Linked DNA regions of Homo sapiens: regions 1, 2, 3, 4, 5 and 7 are each linked to region 6. Evidence: promoter capture Hi-C in 16 types of primary human blood cells and fetal thymus (Javierre and others, 2016). All regions are on one chromosome and are shown on one strand. Each heading gives the region's core, a stretch centred on a gene start or on the middle of the fragment in contact. The rest is flanking DNA. Distances are from core to core; before and after follow the strand shown. Region 1 overlaps MNAT1 (MNAT1 component of CDK activating kinase). Region 2 has its middle 72 kb from the start of TMEM30B. Region 3 overlaps MNAT1 (MNAT1 component of CDK activating kinase). Region 4 has its middle 54 kb from the start of TMEM30B. Region 5 overlaps MNAT1 (MNAT1 component of CDK activating kinase). Region 6 holds the start of TRMT5 (tRNA methyltransferase 5). Region 7 has its middle 110 kb from the start of TMEM30B.

Region 1 (2,771 bases), core at 272-2,771, 230 kb before region 6:
TTTAAAATTTAACAGACTTTATCAGAAATGTTTGGAGTGTTAGGTTTTCTTTTCATTTACTAAGTTGGAATATGTAAAAAAAAAAAGAATTTTGAGATGAGGACAAGTGATTGTATACCTCACTCAGTTTTTTTAGAACACAAATATGATAGTGGTTATATCATTGAAAATCAATGAAGCCTCCATCAATATGGTGCAGTGCCTCTGCACCACTGATTTATATATATTTAATGAACTTGCTGTTCTAATTTCAGGTAACTGAAGCAAACTGCATCTAGCACTAACTGGTTTACTTATAAACAATTCAGCTCATTAAAATATAAATATCTTGAAATTTACCAATATTAGATATAATTTCTTTATAAATAGTTCTACTGTGTTTACTTCCTGGTGTTAACTGACATGTTTCTAAAAAAATCATCATATTTTGGTACTGTTTCAGATAATGTTACCAAAATATGTTGTTTTATTTGATCTTATTTCTTGCTACTGATCTAGAATGGATTTGGAATAGAAGATATGGGACAAAAAAGCTTTCAAAAGTGATGGGATTTATGAAGTATGACATGCCAGATGCTGTATTTTTGAGATCTATTGGAGCATAAGTGAGGACCAGTTAAGGATCTATTTCTATATTCTTTGGGATTAGGAATATAGTTTTTAATATTTGCATTTTTTAAAAAATGTATTTTAAAATAGATTTATTTTAAGCATGTCTATTATGTTTTATTGAAAAAATGCCACAAGATAATATTAAAAAATGTTTTGACAAAAGAAAAAAATTATACATAATACTTTCACAGAGGAGTTCTTTTAATTTTTATCTTCTTATTTGTATGTGTGTGTGCTGTGTAGTCTCAGCTGCTCTGGAGGCTGGGGTAGGAGGATTGCTTGAGCCCAGGGGGTCAAGGCTGCAGTGAGCTATGAGTGTGCCACTATATTCCAGCCTGGGTGACAGAGTGAGGCTCTGTCTCAAAGCAAACAAACAAAAAACACTTTGGAGAATGCTGTTTTAAGTTTTGACTCAGTAACTAATTTTGTAAGAAATTTCATATTACTCTACCATTGTACTACTTATTATTATTATTTTTTGAGATGGAGTCTCACTCTGTTGCCCAGGCTAGAGTGCAGTGGTGTGATCTTGGCTCACTGCAACCTCTGCCTCCTGGGTTGGAGCAGTTCTCCTGCCTCAGCTTCCCGAGTAGCTGGGATTACAGGTACGCACCACCATGCCCGACTAATTTTTGTATTTTTAGTAGAGACAGGGTTTTGCCATGTTGGCCAGGCTAGTCTTGAACTCCTGACCTCAGGTGACCCACCCACCTTGGCCTCCCAGAGTGCTGGGATTACAGGCGTGAGCCACCGCACCTGGCTTGCACTAGTTATTTATTGCTGTCTAACAAATTATCCTAAAACTAAATGGCTTAAAATAACAAACATTTATTTTCTCACGGTTCTTGTGCATCAGGAATTTGGGCATGGCTGAGCTGGGTAGTTTTGGCTCAGGGTGTCTCATGAGATTGCAATCAAGTTTCAGCTGGGGCTCTATTCATTTGAAGGCTTGACTGGAGTTGGAGGATAAACAGTTGACCATTAAACAACATGAGTTTGAAGTGTGTGTCCACTTATATGTGGATTTCAAAAAACAAAACAAATAAGAATTGAAAATACAGTATTCACAGTATGCAAAACCCCATGTATATGGAGGGCTGACTGTATTAAGCTCACTCATGTGGTTTTTGTCAGGAGTCCTCAGTTCTTTACTGTTATTTTTTGGCTAGAGGTGTCAGTTCTTTGTCACATGGGCCTCTCCTAAGGATTTCTTCAGTGTTCGCACAACATAGTAGCTTTCTTCTCCTCAGGTGGATGATTCAAGAGAGAGACAAACAGAAGCCACGATGTCTTCTATGAACATCATTCAGACACCATCGTTTCTGCTGCATTCTGTTTGTTCAGAGTCCTAAATACAGCTCACATTCAGAGGAAGGGGAATTGGGCTTCCCCTTTTGATGAAAGAAGTATAAAGAATTTGTGGCCATATGTAAAACCACACCAACCACATATGTATATTTATCACTGGAATACCTTGAATCCAAGAGGGCTCCCAGTGATTTTTGTCTCCTACTTTTTATGTCCTTGCTTAGTTTCTCCCTGATTGTATCAGGGTTGCTTGTATAACCAATCGAATATGGTAGAAGTTTCTCATTTCCAAGGCTAGGTCTTTAACAAAGACTTTGTGGCTTTCCATGTGGTTACTCTCTATGTTCTTGGGCAACTTGCTGTCATGAAAGACAGTTTATGTGTCGTCAGCAGCCTTATGAAGTTCCGTGTGGTTAAGAACTGAGACCTTCTACTAACCGCCAAGTCAGTGAGCCATCTTAGTCTTCAGTCCCAGTCCTGTCTTCAGATGACTGCAGCCCCAGCTGATATCTTGACAAATAAGCTGCTCCTGGATTCCTGACACTGAGAAATTTTGTGAGATAATAAATTGTTTATTGTTTTAAGCTGTCAAGCTTGGTGGTGTTTTGTTATGCAGCAACAGATAACTAATAGAATCCCTTCATCTTTATTAAAACAAAAGGCACATTGCCAAAAGCTGTACACATATTAGGGATTTTATTTTTTTTTTAATAATAGGGAGAAATTTCTTCTTTTTTTTTTTTTTTTTTGAGACCGAGTCTCGCTCTGTCGCCCAAGCTGGAGTTGGAGTGCAGTGGCACGATCTTGGCTCACTGCAACCTCCGCCTCCCAGGTTCAAGCGATTCTGCTGT
Region 2 (2,733 bases), core at 144-2,643, 230 kb after region 6:
ATCCCTTTCATTTATTTTTTAATTTTAAAACCATTTTTAAGTGTATGGTTCAGTAGTGGCAGGTATTTATTTATTTTTTTATTCAGTGAATATTTATTGACATTTTCCAGATTTGTGGCACTGGGGAAAGTACTATAAGGGACAAAAAAAATTATAAGACAGTCTTCACATTCAGTCAGTTCTCAGTGACTTTGTAATAATTGTTTAATTTTGAAAGTGTGCTTAACTTTTTGTAAGCAACTAAAAATTATTCAGCAACATGTTTGAGTAAATGAGGTGAGAATCCAAGCTGGATATTACCATTTTCTATCAAAGGTGAGACATAATCCCCAAGTTATGAGATTGAATTCCTTGACTAGTTCTGAATATAATTTTAAAGGTGAAAGTCTTAAGATTCTCAATGATTCCAAAAATCATAGAGTCCTGAAGAGCGCGTCTTTAAGCGAACCAGGCATTTTCTATAGCTTAAATAAGGTTTCACACACATATATACCCATATTTTTAACAACGATTGATAAAGTAAACAATAATCTTAAAGCACTATTGACTTTATAGCAGCCTTTTGTTCATTAAGAATACACAAAGTTCAATTACCATTGCTATGATCTGAATTGTGTCCCTACAAAATTCACTTGTTGAAGACCTAACCCCAATATGATGGTATTTGTAGTTGTGGCCTTTGGGGGATAATTAGGTCGTTAGATGGGATTAGTACCTGCTATGGTTTGAATGTGTCCCCTAAAGTTCATAAGTTGGAAACTTAATTCCCAATGCAGCGGTGTTGAGAGGTGGGATCGTTAAGAGTTGATTAAATCATGCATGCTCCACCTTCATGAACGGATTAATGCCATTATCAAGGGAATGGCTTTGCTATTGAGAGAGTGGGTTTGTTATAAAACCCTCCTCTTGCTCTCTCATGCTCTCTTGCCCTTCCATCTTCCGCCATGGGATGATGTAGCCCAAAGGCCCTTGCCAGATACCGGTGCTATGCTCTTGGACTTCTCAGCCTCAAAAACTGTAAGAAATGAATTTTTTTTCTTTATAAATTACCCAGCCTGTGGTATTCTGTTACAACAATACAAAATGGACTAAGACAGTGCCTTTATTTAAAAAAAAAAAAAAAAAAAAAAAAGCTACTCATCCACCCAGGAAGAAGGCCCTCATCAGCAACTCAACTATACTGGCACCAAGATCTTGGATTCCAGCTTCCAGAACGGTAAGAAATAAATGTCTGTTCTTTAAGTCACCCAGTCTATCGTATTTTATCATAGCATCCCGAGCTGACTGAGACAACCACCAAGAGTAACTATCATGAAGCAATGAGTAGGGACAAGCCTCATTTTAGGATCATTAAAGGATCCTTATACAGCTTCAAATTACAGAATGTCAGACATAGACTGGACCATAGTGATCATATGATCCAACAGTTTCCAAACTCAGGGTGCCATAAGCCTTTGTGCAAACTTTTCATTTTTTCTTTTAGATGCAGGGGATTTGTTACATGGGTATATAGCTTAATGGTGGGGATTGGGTTTCTACCGTACCCATCACCCAAATGTTGAACATTGTACCCAACAGGTAATTTTTGAGCCATCATCCCCCTGCTTCCCTCCCTCCTTTTGAACTCCCTGGTGTCTATTATTTCCATCTTTATGTCCATGTGCACCCATTGTTTAGCACCCACTTATAAATGAGAACATGCAGTATTTGATTTTCTGAGTTAGTTCACTGCAAATGTTTAAAATGCATCTTAGGGCCAGGTGTGGTGGCTCACGCTTATAATCCCAGCACTTTGGGAGGCCGAGGAGGGTGGATCACGAGGTCAGGAGTTCAAGACCAGCCTGGCCAACACCGTGAAACCCTGTCTCTACTAAAACAAAAACAAAAAACAAAACAAACAAACAAACAAATATATATATATATATATATATATATATATATATATATATATATATATATAAATTAGCTTGGCATAGTGGCAGGCACCTGTAATCCCAGCTTTTCAGGAGGCTGAGGCAGGAGAACTGCTTGAACCCGGGAGGCGGAGGTTACAGTAAGCCGAGATCGTGCCACTGCACTCCAGCCTGAGTGACAGAGCTAGACTCGGTCTCAGAAAAAATAAATAAATAAAATGCCTCTTGGACACCAGGACGTACAGCTTGGTGAGTAAAGCACATGTTGCATTCCAGCTTCCACTTGCCCTCTTGGGCACCAACTACCCACCCATATCTATCAGCCTTTCCCCAACTTTACCTGATGATACAAATTACCTGGGGCCCTGGTGTAAAACAAAGATTTGCTGATCACTCCCCTGAAGATTTTGATTCAGTAAGTCTGAACTGTGACTTTGGGATTCTGTACTTATCATGATAACCTTCGTGATTTAATAACCAGACAAAATGAAAAACATTGATTTAGACCCAGCCCTCATTTTACAGATGAGGTCAAGGGGGATGAAGTGACTTTCCAAGTCCCATAATGAGTCAGTGAACATCATTGGAATAAATGTATAGGGGTCCCAAGTGATCACATTAAATAGGCCAAGAGTCCTTTCTCTCTCTCTCTCTCTCTCTCTCTCTCTCTCTCTCTGTGTGTGTGTGTGTGTGTGTGTGCGTGCACGCGTGCATTCCATATTGCCTGGGTTGAATTAGAGAAGCAGAAGCACTATGAATGATATGGAAGGAGGCATTGCATATAGGGATTAGACCACATGCAATTGTGGGAGTGAGAGGA
Region 3 (3,159 bases), core at 524-3,023, 130 kb before region 6:
TCTCTACTTTCTGTTTCTGTATAGTTATCTTTTTTGACATTTTCTATAAATAGAATAATACAAAATGTAGTCTTTTGAGCCTAGCTTCTTTGACTTAGTGTAAAGTTTTTGTGCTTCATCCTTGTTTTAGTGTGGCTTTGTTAGACTTTAGTATGAGGATAATATTGACCCCATAAAATGTTTTGGAAAATATTCCCTTGTCCTCTGCTTTCTAGAAGAGTTTCTGAACCATTGGTATTATTTTTTCTTGAAATATTTGATGGAATTTACCAGTGAACCATCTGGTTTTGGCTTTTATTAATGAGAGGATTTCCAAATACTGTTTCAATTTCTTTACTAATAATAAGCCTATTCACACTTCCTTTTTCTATCCCCGTTTCTTTTTCCTTCCTCTCTTTTCCCTCCCTCTCTTCCTTTCCTCCCCTTGCCTCCCCTTCCCCATTCTCCTATTCCTTTTTCTTTTTCCTTCATTCCTTGTCTTGATATTTTGAGTATTCCTAGAAATTGGTCAGTTTCTTCTAAGTTGAATTTCTGTAGGGTCAGGATCACGTTCACTCTTTTATTTCTTATTTTGGTAGTTTTGTTCCTTCTCTTTTTTTTCCCTTGGCACATCAACCTAGCGGTGTGACAGTCTTGTTGATCTTTTCAAAGAATCAACCTTGGTTTTAAGAATTTTTAAAAAATTTTTTTTGATTTCCATTTCATTGATCTCCATTCTAATATTTATGGTTGTCCTTCTGCTTATAAGCTTTGCTCTTCTTTTCCTAATTTCTTAAGGTGGAAACTTGGGTTATTTATTTGAGGTCTTTCTTCTTTTCTAAAAATAGGCATTTAAAGCTATAATACCTCTACATACTGCTTTTGCTACAATAATATGTTGTATTTTCATATTCATACAATTGGATACATTTTTAAATTTTTTCTTGTGATTTCTTGTTTGACCATGGATTATTTAGAGGTTGTTGTTCTAATTTAATTCCACTTTGGTTTGAGGGCATGCTTTGTATGATCCCAATTTTTAAAATTTACCGTTACTTATGTTATGGCCAAATATATTTTTTATTGTGGAGAATGTTCCACAAGTACTTGAAATTTTATTCTATATTTGGGAAGAATGTGTTAGATGTTAGTTACATCATGTTGCTTGATGGTTATGTTGAAGTCTTCTGTGTCCTTACAGATTTTCTGTCTAGTTTGTCTATCAATTATTGAGTGGAGTTTTGAAATCTCTGACTATTATTGTTGAATTGTTTATTTCTCTCTCAATTCTGTCCAGCGTTGCTTCATGTATTTTGAGACTCCTTTTGTATGTTTATAATTTTTATATCTTCATGATATTGACCCTTTTATCATTATGAAATGCTTTTGTCTCTAGTAACAGTTTTTGTCTTAAAGACTTGTTTTATTTGCCGGGCACGGTGGCTCACACCTGTAATCCCCAGCACTTTGGGAGGCCGAGGCGGGCGGATCATGAGGACAGGAGATCGAGACCATCCTGGCTAACACGGTGAAACCCCGTCTCTACTAAAAATACAAAAAATTAGCTGGGTGTGTTGGCGGGCACCTGTAGTTCCAGCTACTCAGGAGGCTGAGGCAGGAGAATGGCATGAACCCAGGAGGCGGAGGTTGCAGTGAGCCAAGATCGCACCACTGCAGTCTGGCCTGGGTGAAAGAGTGAGACAACGTCTCAAAAAAAAAAAAAAAAAGACTTGTTTTATTTTAGTACAGCTACTTCAGCTCTCTTATGGTTATTGTTTACATTGTTTATCTTGTTTCACACTTTTGCTTTCAACCTATTTTATATCTTTGATTCTAATGTGTGCTGGATGTTTTTCATTTGGATAGTCTTTGTTTTTATAGTGTTCAAGCTATTTACGTTTAATGTTTGTTTTGTATATTTCTCATGGTGCTTTTTGTTCTTCTCTTCCTCATTTATTGCTCTTTTTTGTGTTAAATAGATATTTTCTTGTGCACATTTAAATTATTTTCTTTTTACTATGCATATTTTTAAGTGTTTTTATATTGGTTGACCTAGGGTTACAATATGCATATTGACTTATTACAATTGACTTCATATTAATACTAATTCAGTGTTAGTAATATGTAGAATATTTAATTCTGTATAGCTTCATTCCTTTTCCTCTCCTGGAGAGTGCCATTGTCATATGTATTATATTTTATATGCTGTAAGATTAACCATACAGTTTTACAGGTTTTTTTTTGTAGCTGTTTTGTAAATTTGTTAAGAGGAATAAAGAGAGAAAAGTTTTTATTCAGTCTTTTAGATTTGTCTATGTAATTACCTCTTGAGTATTCTTCATTTCTTTGTGAGAATTTGAGTTACTGCTTGGTATCATTTCCTTTTAGCCTGCAGGACATCTTTACTATTTTTACAGATTCCTCAGTCTTTACCTGGGAATGTCTTTATTCTGCCTCAGTTTTGTAGGGTAGTTTATTTGGATAAAGAATTCTTGGTTTAGTGTTTTTCTTTTAGCCGTTTGAATATATCGTTCCACTACCTTCTGACTTCTATGGTTTCTGATGCTAAGTCAGCTGTTAGTCTCATTGAGGGTCCATTGTGTGTGATAAGTATTTTCTCTTTTGCTGCTTTTAAGATTTTCTCTTTGTGTTCATCTTTCTGTATTTTTAGGGCCCAGCAGGGCTTTAACTTTACTAATTTTGTCACCCTTTTTGGGCTTTAGCATGAACTGGTAGTTTAGATTTTCATTGTGTTTTAAAAATAGTTACAGCCTGAATTTATTTTTATATGATTCCCTCAAGTTTTATATAATTTTCCTCAAGCTTTTATTGCCATGTAATTCAATAATACCTCTCTGAGGAATGACTACTTAAGCATCTTTGTTATAAGAAATGGTGATACCGTGTTAATTTTTTTGTTTTACTTCATGTTGTGGCGTTATGTACTGTTGCTTTCAGATTTTTTTCTTGCTTCATGGGATTTCATAAACATATCCCCTATAGATGTATTTACTCTATATATGTCACATAAAAACACATATAAAAATAAGGCTTATAATAATTAAAGTATTGACTTTTCTGGAGGACTATATAATCTTAATAAGATGTTTTCCTTTTGATAAATATTGAATGATAATCTTTAAGACTAGGTAAAAGATACCATAGTATATTTAGTATTTG
Region 4 (2,839 bases), core at 334-2,833, 250 kb after region 6:
CAGTACTCACTCATTCTTTCAACCAGTAAGCATTTATTGGCCTCCACTCTGAGCCAGGCACTGTGTTAGTTATTCATCTTAAAGAGCATGAAAAATATTGTTCTAAGTGTCAGCACTACCTTCATGACTCATTAAAATCTTTTAAATACATTTATCCAGGACCAAAATATACATCTTCAAGCCAACGATTATATTATTCCTTGGCCACACCTTCCAGCAAGTCATCATTTCTCTAACACAAACTACCCTGGCCCCAGAGAAAGTCAAGAGAGGAAAGTATGTGTGGGATGTTGTGGGTCGATTACATTAAAAGAATGTGACAACTTGATGTGGGTTTGTGATATTTCAATTGGCTTATACCAGGCGAGGGTGACAGATAGATTTATGTGGGGCAACTGTGTCCTGCTCCTTTTGGTTTCCTTAATCACAAAAATGTGGCAGAAAACTGGATGTTGTGGATAGACCATGGAATTATGTGGTTTCCACAAAGCATTGTATTTGGCAGTGGTTGGGAGACAATGGTCGTTCTCTAAAGATTCTGGGTTCTCTTAATCATGAAGGCAAACATTTGAGCATTCAGTCGTTCCTAACAAAGGCCTAAATATTATTATATCCAGGGCTTGTCTTGTCCTATGTGCTGAGTGAACCACTGGCTGATGATAGAATAGGCTCCCCCACCCAAAAATATTCTACCCACCACCCCCTTCCACTTCCCATTACCACCATCATTCCTTGCCTTCCCTTCCCACTACCAAATCTCTCTCAGATCTCCTTGGCTGCCACTCCTAGGCTTTTCACAGTGAAAGTCCTGGTGTACAATACATCTACTGAGATGGGCAATGCCTTGGTCCATTGTCGCCATTAACCACCTAAATTTGTTTATCAGATTAACTTAGCCACTTTGCAAGGCCCGGAGAGAATAAGAGGACAAGTGATTTATTGATTTTTGGTGGCAGAGAAGAAGAACCTAGAACAAAAGAATCTAAATAAATTGGCAGTATAGAACAGCAGTTAATCATGTGGTTCTCAAAGTCAGACTGCTTTCCTCGCTTACTCACTCTGTCATCTCCAAGAAGTTTCTTAACTGTTTTTCCTGCATTGGTACAACAGGAATGACAATAATAAGAGTACCTGCCTCATAAGATTGCTGTTGTGGCTGGGCGCGGTGGCTCACGCCTGTAATCCCAGCCCTTTGGGAGGCCAAGGCAGGGGATCACGAGGTCAGGAGATCGGGACCATCCTGGCTAACACGGTGAAACCCCGTCTCTACTAAAAAATATAAAAAATTAGCCAGGCGTGGTGGCGAGCGCCCGTAGTCCCAGCGACTCGGGAGGCTGAGGCAGGAGAATGGCCTGAACCTGGGAGGCAGAGCTTGTAGTGAGCAGAGATGCGCCACTGCACTCCAGCCTGGGCAAAAGAGCGAGACTCTGTCTCAAAAAATAGATAAATAAATAAATAAATAAAGATTGCAGTTGTGAGGGTTAAATGCGAACATTTTTATGTCCATGCATAGGAATGCCTGGCATATATTAGGTTGGTGCAAAAGTAATCGCGGTTTTTGCCATTACTTTTAAATGGCAAAAACCGTGATTATTTTTGCAGCAACCTAATAGTAAGTGCTTGATAAATATGCCGTCTTGAAGAGAGACCTGAGCAGCCAGATGTTAGCATGAGGGCCCTGGGGATTTTAATCATGTGCAGAGGGTAGAGAAACATTCCTGAGTAAAATATATTTGAAAACAAAGGCTCATAATCGTTTTGCTAGCAATTTGCTTCTACCCTAAGTGTGGCACCACAAACTTTTCTTAACCCTCCCTAAATACCTTCCAGGTTTCCATCAGTAATAAACAAAGGGATTGTCTGCTCCAATTTCTGCAGGGAGTATCCATTTACATTGTCCCAAAGGAAGGAGGACTCTTGCATTTTCTGAGTCATGGGTCAAATGTTGTCAAGTTTTTCATTCATTATACAGTAGAGAAGAGGCTAGGATCATGTCCACCCTGGGTCACTATAGTAGCTTGGGTGAAAAGTAACTTGGCCATTGAATCCCGAGGAGAGAAGAAATGCTTGAGTCCAGTCATTTTTACAAATACAAGGACAGAAACAAGGTCGAAAGTTGAAGTGTAGAAGACAGAGAGAAAAGCAATTTTTAAAGTCTAGACAGCATATTAACAACAAGGGCTTAATGTGTTGCGCTCTGTTTATAGGAGCTTTTTGCTGACAGCACGGAACCTGAGCCCTCCTCCCTCCTCATAGCAAGTTCCCTTCTGCTGTGTCAATAGAAGCCACCTCTTCTCAATCCTTGGAGGATTGGCGATCAGAGTTTGTACTTGGTGTCCACAGAACAAAGGGAAACAGAAAAAGGAAGCACATCTTGAGGACTTGCAATATTGGATAGAAGATGAATCTATCATACCAGTCTGATAGCAGCTCACAGTTGTATTTTAGCCTCCCAAGATTTTTTTTCTAGTAACAAATGAAAGGATAGATGAATAAGAGTTCATCAAACCTTTTCTATATGTATTTTGCTTTCCTAAGGAAAGCAGTTCGGGAAAGAGTTTTTCTTTCCTTTTTAGTCATTTTTCTAAAGTTACAAAATGTGTCAGGTACCGTGGCTCATGCCGCTAATCCTAGCACTTTGGGAGGCCAAAGCAGGAGGATTGCTTGGGCCCAGTAGTTCAAGACCAGCCGGGGCAACATAGTGAGATCCTCTCCCTTTAAAAAAAATTTTTTTTAATATAAAAAATATATAAATAAAATTATAAATGACTTTAATTAGAGTATTGGGGCAGTGGCTGGTGGGAATGTAATACATTTCACCTTTCTGGAAAGCAATTTT
Region 5 (2,944 bases), core at 299-2,798, 190 kb before region 6:
ACTTCTTCCAAATGCCTTTTAATGTTAATATTTTTTATCTTTTCACATGAATCACACATGTTCTTAATGGCATCTAGAATGGTGAATCCTTTCAAAAAGGTTTTGAATTTGCTTTGCCCAGATCTATCAGAGGAATCATTGTCTGTAGCAGCTACAGCATTATGACATGTATTACTTAAATAACAAGACTTCAATGTCAGAATTACTCCTTGACCCATGGGCTTTTGAATGGATGTTGTGTTAGCAGGCATGAAAACAACATTCATGTCCTTGCACATATCCATCAGAGGTCTTAGGTGACCAGATTCATTGTCAATGGGCAGTAACATTTTGGAAGGAATCTTTTTTTCCGAGCAATAGGTCTCAACAGTGGGTTCAAATATTAAGCAAACCATGCTGTAAATAGATGCGCCATCATTCAGGCTTTATTCTTCCATTTATAGAGCACAGGCAGTATAGATTTAGCATAATATTTAAGGGCTTTATGATTTTTCAAAATGACAAATGAACATTGGTTTCAATTTAGTCATCAGCTGCACTATCTCCTGAAAAGACACCCTTGCCTTTGAAGCTTTGAAACCAGGCATTGGCTTCTCCTCTGTAGCTATGGAAGTCCTAGACGGCATCTTCCAATAGAAGGATGTTTCATCTGCATTGAAAAGTCTGTTTTTCAGTGTAGCCACCTTCATCATTATCTTAGATAGATATTATGGATAACTTGCTGAAGCCTCCATATCAGCACTTGCTGCTTCACCTTGCACTTTTATGTTATGGAAACAGCATCTTTCCTTGAATTTCATGAACCAACCTCTGCTAGCTTCAGACTTTTCTTCTGCAACTTCCTCACCTTTCTCAACCTTTATAGGATTGAAGAGAGTTAGGTATTAGGATCTGGATTAGGTTTTGGTTTAAGGGAATGTTGTGGCTGGTTTGATCTTTTATCCAGACCACTGAAACTTTCTCTGTATAAATGATAAGACTGTTTTGCTTTCTTAACATTGTGTGTCATTGGCGCAGTGCTTTTAATTTCCTTCGAGGACTTTTCCTTTGCATTCATGACTTGGCTAACTGGTGCAGTTGGCCTAGCTTTTGGGCTATCTCAGCTTATGATACACCCTCCTCAGGAAGCTTGGTCATTTCTGTCTTTTGATTTAAAGTGAGAAACCTGTGATTGTTTTTTTCACCTGAACACCTAAGAGTCCATTGTAGGGTTATTAATTGGCCTAATTTAAATATTGTTGTGTCTCAAGGAATGGGAGGTCTGAGAAGAGGGAGAGAGTTGGAGGAACAGTCAGTTGGTGAAGCAGTTGGAGTACATACAACATTTATTAAGTTTGCTGTCTTATATGGGTGCTTTTCATGGTGCCCTGAAACAATTAAAATGGTAACACCAAAGATCACTGATCACATAACACCATGTCAGATATAACGATAATGAAAATGTTTGAAATATTGTGAGAATTACCAAAATGTGAAACAGAGACGTGAAGTAAGCATATGCTGTTGGAAAAATGGTGCCGATAGACTCATTCCATGGCAGCGTTGCCACAAATCTTGAATTTGTAAAAAATGAAATATCTGCAAAGCCCAATAAGGCAATTCGCAATAAAATGAGGCATGCCTGTAATTGTCAGTTCTCCCAGTCTGCAGTATTATTTCTGAAGCCCTTCATAAAGTTAGACAGACTTTTCCCTCCAATTTCTAGCTTTTACCTTGTTTCCTCAACCATATCCCTGAAGGGGCTTTGAGCCTCTAATGTCTTAAATCTTAACATCCAGCACTATCACATGCACACCCTTTTTAGCTATCAGGATGAAACTGTTCATCAGTGGCAGAAAGAATGGCTACAGAATAGTCCACATATTTCAGAAAATGTTCTTGGCTTAGAGCATTTGGAATATGATGTGTTATTAACACATGCTGGCTAGGAGTATGTAGTATAATTTGTTGAGCTGTTGCTCATTGGCTGAAAGCTTACGATAGTATTCAAAGTATGCTTTTGTAATAGAGTTACTTTTTCTTTCTTTTTTTTTCTATTTTCACCATAGTATATGAATGTTTATGCACAAAGTTGGTGTATCTGACACAGACAGAAGAATATTGGTTTTGAGTATGTTGAGTTTGAGGTAACTTGTGGGATATCAAAGAGTAATTGTGCAATGGGCAGTGTGTAATAGGAATTTAGGAGAGATTTTTAGGCTAGAAATAGATACTTAGGATGATTATTTTCATAGGTCATTGTAAAAATTGTAAGAATAAGATAGAAGGAGAAAGTGTAGAGTATGAAGAGGACTGTAAAAGGGAAATAAATCTTGGGACCCCCAAAATCACTAAGCTAAAGGGAAAAGTCAAGCTGGGAACTGCTTAGTGCAAACCTGCCTCCCATTCTATTGAAAGTCATTCCTCTGAGGCTCATCTGAGACAAATGAATCTCTGATTGCTTCCTCTGCCCTATTGTTTATGTAAAAATGCAGATTCACTGAGCCAGACTAAATTGTGTATTCAGTGGAAGGCTGATCAAGGACTCAAAATAATCCAACCTTTTGTCTCTCATCTACTTCTAACCTGGAAGCCCCCACTTCGACTTGTCCCACCTTACTGGACCAAACCGATGTACATCTTACACATATTGATTATTAATATAAAATGTATGTCATGATTATCAATATAAAATGTATAAAAGCAAGCTGTACTCGACCACTTTGGGAACATGTCATCAGGACCTCCTGAGGGTGTGTCCTTAACTTTGGCAAAATAAACTTCCTAAATTGACTGAGTCCTGTCTCAGAAATATGGGATTCACAGGGTAATGGTGAATTCTTACTAGTTATATGATTTTAAGCCAGTTATTTGACTTCTCCATGCTTAGTGCCCTCATCTATGTAGTAAGGAAAATAATATCTACATCATATCGCAAAAGCCCTAATTAATGTTATTTTCTTTC
Region 6 (2,893 bases), core at 227-2,726:
GCACTGGAATGTTGACTGTCTTTTTAAAAGCTGTTCTATCAAGTTTTGTCATGCCTCGGACATCAGAAGGTGGTGAAAACAATTCAGTCTCTCTCTCATGTGTTTCTGTTTCTGGCATGGTTGAGAATCTTTTTCTTTGACCCAATAAGAAAATACCAGGTGCTTCCAAAAGCATCTGTGTCAGGGATGTCCAAGCTACTGGAATCAACGATTTTGATTCAGTTATGCTATGGCTTTCCAGTTTCAGAAATCTTCCTGAGAATCCAAATGGCCTCCATAAGATCCTTAAAAAAAAAAAAAAAAAATTCACACACGACAGCTTTTGAGAATAAAAATCTAAATTCTACTATCTCAAATAACGGGCTAAATGCTGACAAATAAAACGTTTAGTGATGTGTGGGAAGTATACTATCTTTTCCAGACTAGGATGACTTCTTCAGGAAGTCGTATTAGTGGTAGATAATAGTGGTATATATTAAATTTACACCTTCAACCCATCTGCTCCCAGTTCAGAGGGCTTAGTGATCCATTAGCCATACTCAATGATCCTCTTCACCCACAATTTTCTAGATAATACATTTGGGATTGGAAGACTGAAGTATGAGTTAAATGGTCATCTGTAAATGAAATAGTCATTATACATGACCATTACTAGTGGTGATATTTATTAGGATAGTCTCATGGGTGCTTATTGTGTCAGATACTGCGCTAAATGCTTTATGTACATTATGAATCTTGGGAGGTGTGCAGTATTGCACCCTCATTTTGTAAATAAGTAAACTAAAGCTCAGACGTAAGGTAACCCACCCAAAGTCTCCCAGCTGATAAGTGGCTAAACATGGATTAAAACCTAGTTTTGACTGACTTCGGTGCTTGTGTTCTTAATATATTGCTCTGTTGTTTGTTTTCGATGCTTTACTGCCACATGTCCTGCCTTTAACTAGAGGCTTCTGTATTTTGAGGACGAGAGCTTTGCTGATTGTTATATGCATAGTATCAGTTATTCACTGTCTTCTAAAATACCAAAGAATTTACTTGTAAGGGGAAAGGGCCCTGTCCCAGAATCCTGTAAAGCAACGAAGTCTAACTTCACCGTCAGAGATCAAATTGGTTCTAGCAGCTGACCAGCTGGGTGACCCTGGATAAATTACTATAAGTCTCGGTTTTCCCACCAGTAAAATGTGGCGAAAGGCTTTTGAAACATTCCTTACTATCCAGAACCTCGAAACTAAGCTCAGCACCTAGGCGGGTGGGTGACCTCGCGATGTTTCTGTGCCCAGGCAGCACATGGCAGAGAGCAGCCCTGGGCGGGCTGGTACCTCCCCTGGACCATTAGCCCCTAACGCGGCCGCCACCTCACCAAAGCACCATTCCAATTCCCCACGTCGCTCTGCAGCTGGATCCGCGAGCCGACCCCTCACCTCCCGCTCCGGTACCGATCGGATGTGGGTCGCGGGTGGATGGGCGGGTCTTCTATGACATCATCACTGTTCGCCGCGAAGAGGGCGCGCGTCATCAGATCAAGTCGACTCGCTCCTCTCCTTCCAGGCCCTGGTGAAGTACGGAATGCCGGAAGGGCCGGGCTCAAAGCTCCGCCTCTGGCGCGACCGACGACTGGAGCGCAGGGCAGGGGTAGAGGCTCGTAGATGGAACTGGTAGTCAGCTGGAGAGCAGCATGGAGGCGTCCTGGGGGAGCTTCAACGCTGAGCGGGGCTGGTATGTCTCTGTCCAGCAGCCTGAAGAAGCGGAGGCCGAAGAGTTGAGTCCGTTGCTAAGCAACGTAAGTGGGCTGTGTTCGCTTCCCCGCGCTGACGCCCTCCGGCTTCCCTCAAGTGCCTGCCAAATAAGACCCAGAAAAGGAGGACCGCACCGGGACAGGGGAGATGCTGGAGCCTGAACCCTGGGGGATGGGGTCTGAAGGCAGCCGCCGAGATTCAGATGAGATTGGCGCAGTTATGAACGTGATAGCAGCCTAGCATACTCTAGAAAGAAAAGATGAAAAGCGTCGGGTGGAAGAGATGCAGCGTTGAGTGGAAGCTGCGAACATGATGGGATGAGCGGCCCTAGGATTATGTACTCACTGCTGTTAGTTAGTATTTTTGTCACCTTATTTTCTCCACCAGTCTCGTGAGGTCTTTGCAAGAGTCACAGGATTTTCCTCTTCCGACTTAGTCATGGGGGGAGGGAAAATAATAAACATTTTAATACAGAAATTCTTAGCGGTAGAATGGAAGTGGCTTGGTAGTAAGTGCATAGCACGTTCCTGACCCTAAAGCCTGTGCAGTGGGCACTCCGCTTTTTAACTCGAGTCCTAGACACTGTTCCCAGGACTTTGTTCCCGGTGCTGTTTGTGGGGAGGGGGATGTTTTCAGGGATACTGCCAGAACAACGTGAATTGCTTCTGTTTATAATATTGTCATTGCAAGATATTCCTGACCATCCTTCCAGTTTGGTAGAACTAATTCATTAGATATATAAGTAGAGATTAGTTGTGCAGTCCTAGTAATTGAGGAGAAACAACTGCCCACAGCAGTCCCAGGTTGACTCAGCAATTCTTTAGTAATCACATGAGCTGAGGCCTTATCCCTCCTCTCTCTCCCCACTCCATTCCCATCCTATCTTCATCTCTTGCAGTCACAAGGTTAGTCATGGCCCTTCCTGAACTCTGCCTGTCTTGTGTACTGGTGGAAATCATTTTCCTAAGAAACCCTAGATTCCTGGAGCTGCAGTAGTGGGAGGTGGGAAGGAAAGGAAAGGAAATTAGTGTTGGTTAAGCAACGAGTGTGTCATACAAACCCTGGTGGTTTGCAGCTTTTTTCCATAATCTTTCATTTATGGAATTTCTTTACGAAATTTTAACTTCACCGTCCAAACATTTAACACTACTAAATTT
Region 7 (3,053 bases), core at 16-2,515, 190 kb after region 6:
AGTGCAATTCTCCTAATTGCTAATCAAATTCAATGTTATCCCCTTAAAAACCATTCCTAAGCCATACACACTTCAGCTGAACTTAAAGGGTTAAAGGACGTCTGCCAGATTTCAGGAGAATTCTGTTGATCTCAACCTTTAGACTCTTTAGTACTAAAATATTTTGGAAGTTTCTACTTCACTGAGTGACATAATTTACACCTTTCATTCTAGGGTTGTCTTTACTGAACCACACAGTGGTGTTCTTATGTAGACAAAGCTACTGGAGTTTAGAAACAGGAAGAGCTAGAAACTCGCATTTTAAAGCTTACCCAGTGGGGTATTTCCTTAACTTTCCAAATTCTGACATGTGTTAGGTAGTCAGGAAAGAATAATGAAATTCCCCAGGAAAAGCGTTCCATAAATGGCAGCTGTTAAAATGTGGTTTTCTAGGTAGCTATGGGCCTGATTTCCATCCCATTCTTCTTACCTCATGCAGGGCTGGTCTTAGGTTGCTTTTGCAGAGACAGATCTAGGGTCCTGCAGGAAAGCCAAAGCCTTCCAGAACAGCTCAACAATAGCTCAGCGGCTCTCCAGCACACCGCTGAGTCTCCTTCTGAGAGTGTGTGTCGGTGTCACACAAGAGCTATGCTAGTTTTCAATCGCTGCTCTCATCGGAAATAATGCCAGCTTCAATTAAGTCCTGTCAGCTCAGTCAGCACCATCTGATGAGGGGAAGGGGAGGAGGTACTTCTTCAGTGGAAAGAAAACACTAGGAACCACAACAGAGATACAAGGCCTAGCAAGGAGCCTTAAGTAAGAAAGGATAAGATCAGTGGTGTTGAAGATGAAAAAGGACAAGCGATTTCCGGAGGGTCCATCAAAAGTAGCTGCACAGTGTAGAGTTGTCAAGAAATTTGATTCGGCCCTGAAGGCCTGCAGGGGTGAAGAGGAGTTTGAGAGGTTCTGGTCCTGGGGCCCAGAGGGGAGTGGCAGATTTGAATTATGGGTTCACACCTGTAGCCTGTGGTCGCCAAACCATGGCTGAGGGAGAGATGTGTGGGAATTAAAAGATCCAGATAGTTCTGCTATAACATGATACATGCATTCCTAAAACTCACTGTGTTATGCAAAATTGCACAATAAAAACCACAGGCTTAGAGAAAAGACAGGGTCAGGGGCACAGTACCTAAACACTTTGTTGGTAATATAAAAAAGATAGGAACTTAATAAAAATGATAGCACAGTTTTGTGCATGTTAAATAATGAAAAAAATGTAAATACTACAATAAATATGGCACTTTATCTTTAAAAATACCTGCCATTTGCTGATGGAAGAGGGAGCTGAGAGGGTTGCTGCTTGTGTTAGGATGAAGTAGTAGAAGAAAGATCACCAACATTTTTGATTTTTTGCAGCCTTAAAATTCTGAAATGTGGGCCATTTGAAGCATGCATTTATAATGGATATCCGTTTCATCAAAATTGAAAATTTGAAAATGTAGCATTTTCTTCTTTAGTTAATTTCTGTATCCCTGCTGGAAATTCCTTTGCAGTTTTCTCATCCACACTTGAGGACTTCACTCAATAGCTGAAGTCTTTGGAAATTGTGGTGATATTTGAAATCACCAAATCAGCCCCTCATAGAACAAAAGGTGTCATTTCTGCAGAATGTGGTAATTTCCATTAAGGTTTTTGCACGTAGATAGTGCTTTCTCTTTGTGAGCGAGGTTGCCCTTATTTTTCACCACCTAGTTTTCGGTTTCAACAATGCTCATCTTTCCATCTCTTCTATGTCTTCATGCCTTTTTTTTTTTTTTTTTTTTTTTTTTTTTTTTTTTGAGACGGAGTCTTGCTCTGTCACCAGGCTGGAGGGGTGCAGTGGTGCAATCTCAGCTCACTGCAACCTCCGCCTCCCAGGTTCAAGCGATTCTCCTGCCTCAGCCTCCCCAAGTAGCTGGGACTACAGGCACTTGCCACCATGCCCAGCTAATTTTTGTATTTTTAGTAGAGATGGGGTTTCACCATGTTGGCCAGGATGGTCTCGATCTCTTGACCTCGCCTATAATCCCAGCACTTTGGGTGTCCAAGGTGGGTGGATCATGCCTTATTCTTATTGATTTCTCAGCACTTGAACTTATTCCATCCACAGACATTTCTTTTATTTCTATGGTCTGTTGCTTGGGAGATAGCATAGGTTCTCTTGATTCTCTCAAAATGCTTTACTTCAATTTCCCCCCTCAATACACAAAGCTTTTCTTTCCCATGCCCTGCTTGTGATGCTTAGACATGTTGGAGATGTTGAATGAATTCTTTTTAATACACAACACTTTACAAATGTGAAAGAATAGGAAAATATAACCTCGTAGGATGACCCAGTTGGTTGTGATAAGTAGATTAGTTAGAATAACACATCTGCAAGGTAGTAGGGCAGATGCGTGGAATATGTGCATGTGGCATTTTGTGAATCCTGACAAGACTCAGTTCAGCTGGGTGCCATCTTCTATGTTAATCTAGTTTTCTCTTGCAGATAAAATTGCCTATGAGAAACTTGAATTATGTTCACATTGTCCCCAATACTTTAATTCAATCACAATAAATTCACATTTTAAAAACAAGTGTTAATAACCAACTGTATATGTACCTCTGTTCATGTATTTTCTCATTTGATCATGTTAATAATTCTGGGAGGTAGATAGGAAAGTTAATATTCCCATTACACGGATGGAAAAAACTGACTCTGAGGAATGTCCCACAGCTTGGAAATGAGTCTGGAAATACCAGAAGTTAAGATAAGAGCTCTGACCACGTTTAAGTCCCTGTTCCTACTAGTTCCTAAAGCCAGTTCAACTCACTGTCTTCTGCAAGTTGGGTGTTGTGAGCCAAGGAATTTTCTTCTTTTGCTTAAAGTAGTTTGAGGTGGGTTTTTGGGTTGTTTTGTTTTGTTTTGTTTTGTTTGAGACAGAGTTTCACTCTTGTCACCCAGGCTGGAGTGCAGTGGCACTATCTCGGCTCACTGCAACCTCTACCTCCCGGGTTCAAGTGATTCTCCTGCCTCAGCCTCCCAAGTAGCTGGT

The links. Contacts are between HindIII fragments. The CHiCAGO score rates a contact against its expected background, and 5 or more counts as called.
Region 1: a contact is called between a fragment that was not itself captured here and the fragment with the promoter of TRMT5 in region 6, in 12 of 17 cell types (erythroblasts, total CD8 T cells, naive CD8 T cells and 9 more). The highest score is 10.8, in erythroblasts.
Region 2: a contact is called between a fragment that was not itself captured here and the fragment with the promoter of TRMT5 in region 6, in 1 of 17 cell types (M2 macrophages). The highest score is 6.6, in M2 macrophages.
Region 3: a contact is called between a fragment that was not itself captured here and the fragment with the promoter of TRMT5 in region 6, in 1 of 17 cell types (total B cells). The highest score is 5.0, in total B cells.
Region 4: a contact is called between a fragment that was not itself captured here and the fragment with the promoter of TRMT5 in region 6, in 1 of 17 cell types (M2 macrophages). The highest score is 6.4, in M2 macrophages.
Region 5: a fragment that was not itself captured here is called in contact with the fragment with the promoter of TRMT5 in region 6 in 1 of 17 cell types (endothelial precursors); the score reaches 5.8 in endothelial precursors.
Region 7: a fragment that was not itself captured here is called in contact with the fragment with the promoter of TRMT5 in region 6 in 1 of 17 cell types (endothelial precursors); the score reaches 6.1 in endothelial precursors.

Annotation. Positions count from the first base shown.
Region 1 is chr14:60,751,691-60,754,461 of GRCh38, forward strand. All of the region lies in intron 1 of MNAT1 (MNAT1 component of CDK activating kinase), which reads left to right. Among named protein-coding and RNA genes, the nearest start is that of MNAT1, 18 kb to the left of the region's middle. RefSeq lists enhancers at 1,686-1,965, 2,376-2,425. The HindIII fragment of the contact is 1,980 bases long and covers 532-2,511 here.
Region 2 is chr14:61,208,203-61,210,935 of GRCh38, forward strand. It overlaps a transcript of PRKCH not described here. Among named protein-coding and RNA genes, the nearest start is that of TMEM30B, 72 kb to the right of the region's middle. The HindIII fragment of the contact is 9,130 bases long and covers 1-2,733 here.
Region 3 is chr14:60,845,715-60,848,873 of GRCh38, forward strand. The region is part of intron 6 of MNAT1 (MNAT1 component of CDK activating kinase); the gene reads left to right. Among named protein-coding and RNA genes, the nearest start is that of MNAT1, 110 kb to the left of the region's middle. The HindIII fragment of the contact is 2,054 bases long and covers 747-2,800 here.
Region 4 is chr14:61,226,159-61,228,997 of GRCh38, forward strand. It overlaps a transcript of PRKCH not described here. Among named protein-coding and RNA genes, the nearest start is that of TMEM30B, 54 kb to the right of the region's middle. The HindIII fragment of the contact is 9,935 bases long and covers 1-2,839 here.
Region 5 is chr14:60,787,927-60,790,870 of GRCh38, forward strand. All of the region lies in intron 1 of MNAT1 (MNAT1 component of CDK activating kinase), which reads left to right. Among named protein-coding and RNA genes, the nearest start is that of MNAT1, 55 kb to the left of the region's middle. RefSeq lists an enhancer at 2,156-2,685. The HindIII fragment of the contact is 845 bases long and covers 1,127-1,971 here.
Region 6 is chr14:60,979,603-60,982,495 of GRCh38, forward strand. It overlaps TRMT5 (tRNA methyltransferase 5), which reads right to left and starts at 1,477. Exons shown (of 5, transcript NM_020810.3): 1 at 1,361-1,477; 2 at 1-284. The coding sequence starts at 1,371. It overlaps SLC38A6 (solute carrier family 38 member 6), which reads left to right and starts at 1,643. Exons shown (of 16, transcript NM_153811.3): 1 at 1,643-1,780. The coding sequence starts at 1,676. RefSeq lists an enhancer at 1,367-1,746. The HindIII fragment of the contact is 5,504 bases long and covers 1-2,893 here.
Region 7 is chr14:61,174,112-61,177,164 of GRCh38, forward strand. No RefSeq gene overlaps it. Among named protein-coding and RNA genes, the nearest start is that of TMEM30B, 110 kb to the right of the region's middle. RefSeq lists an enhancer at 181-682. The HindIII fragment of the contact is 1,923 bases long and covers 305-2,227 here.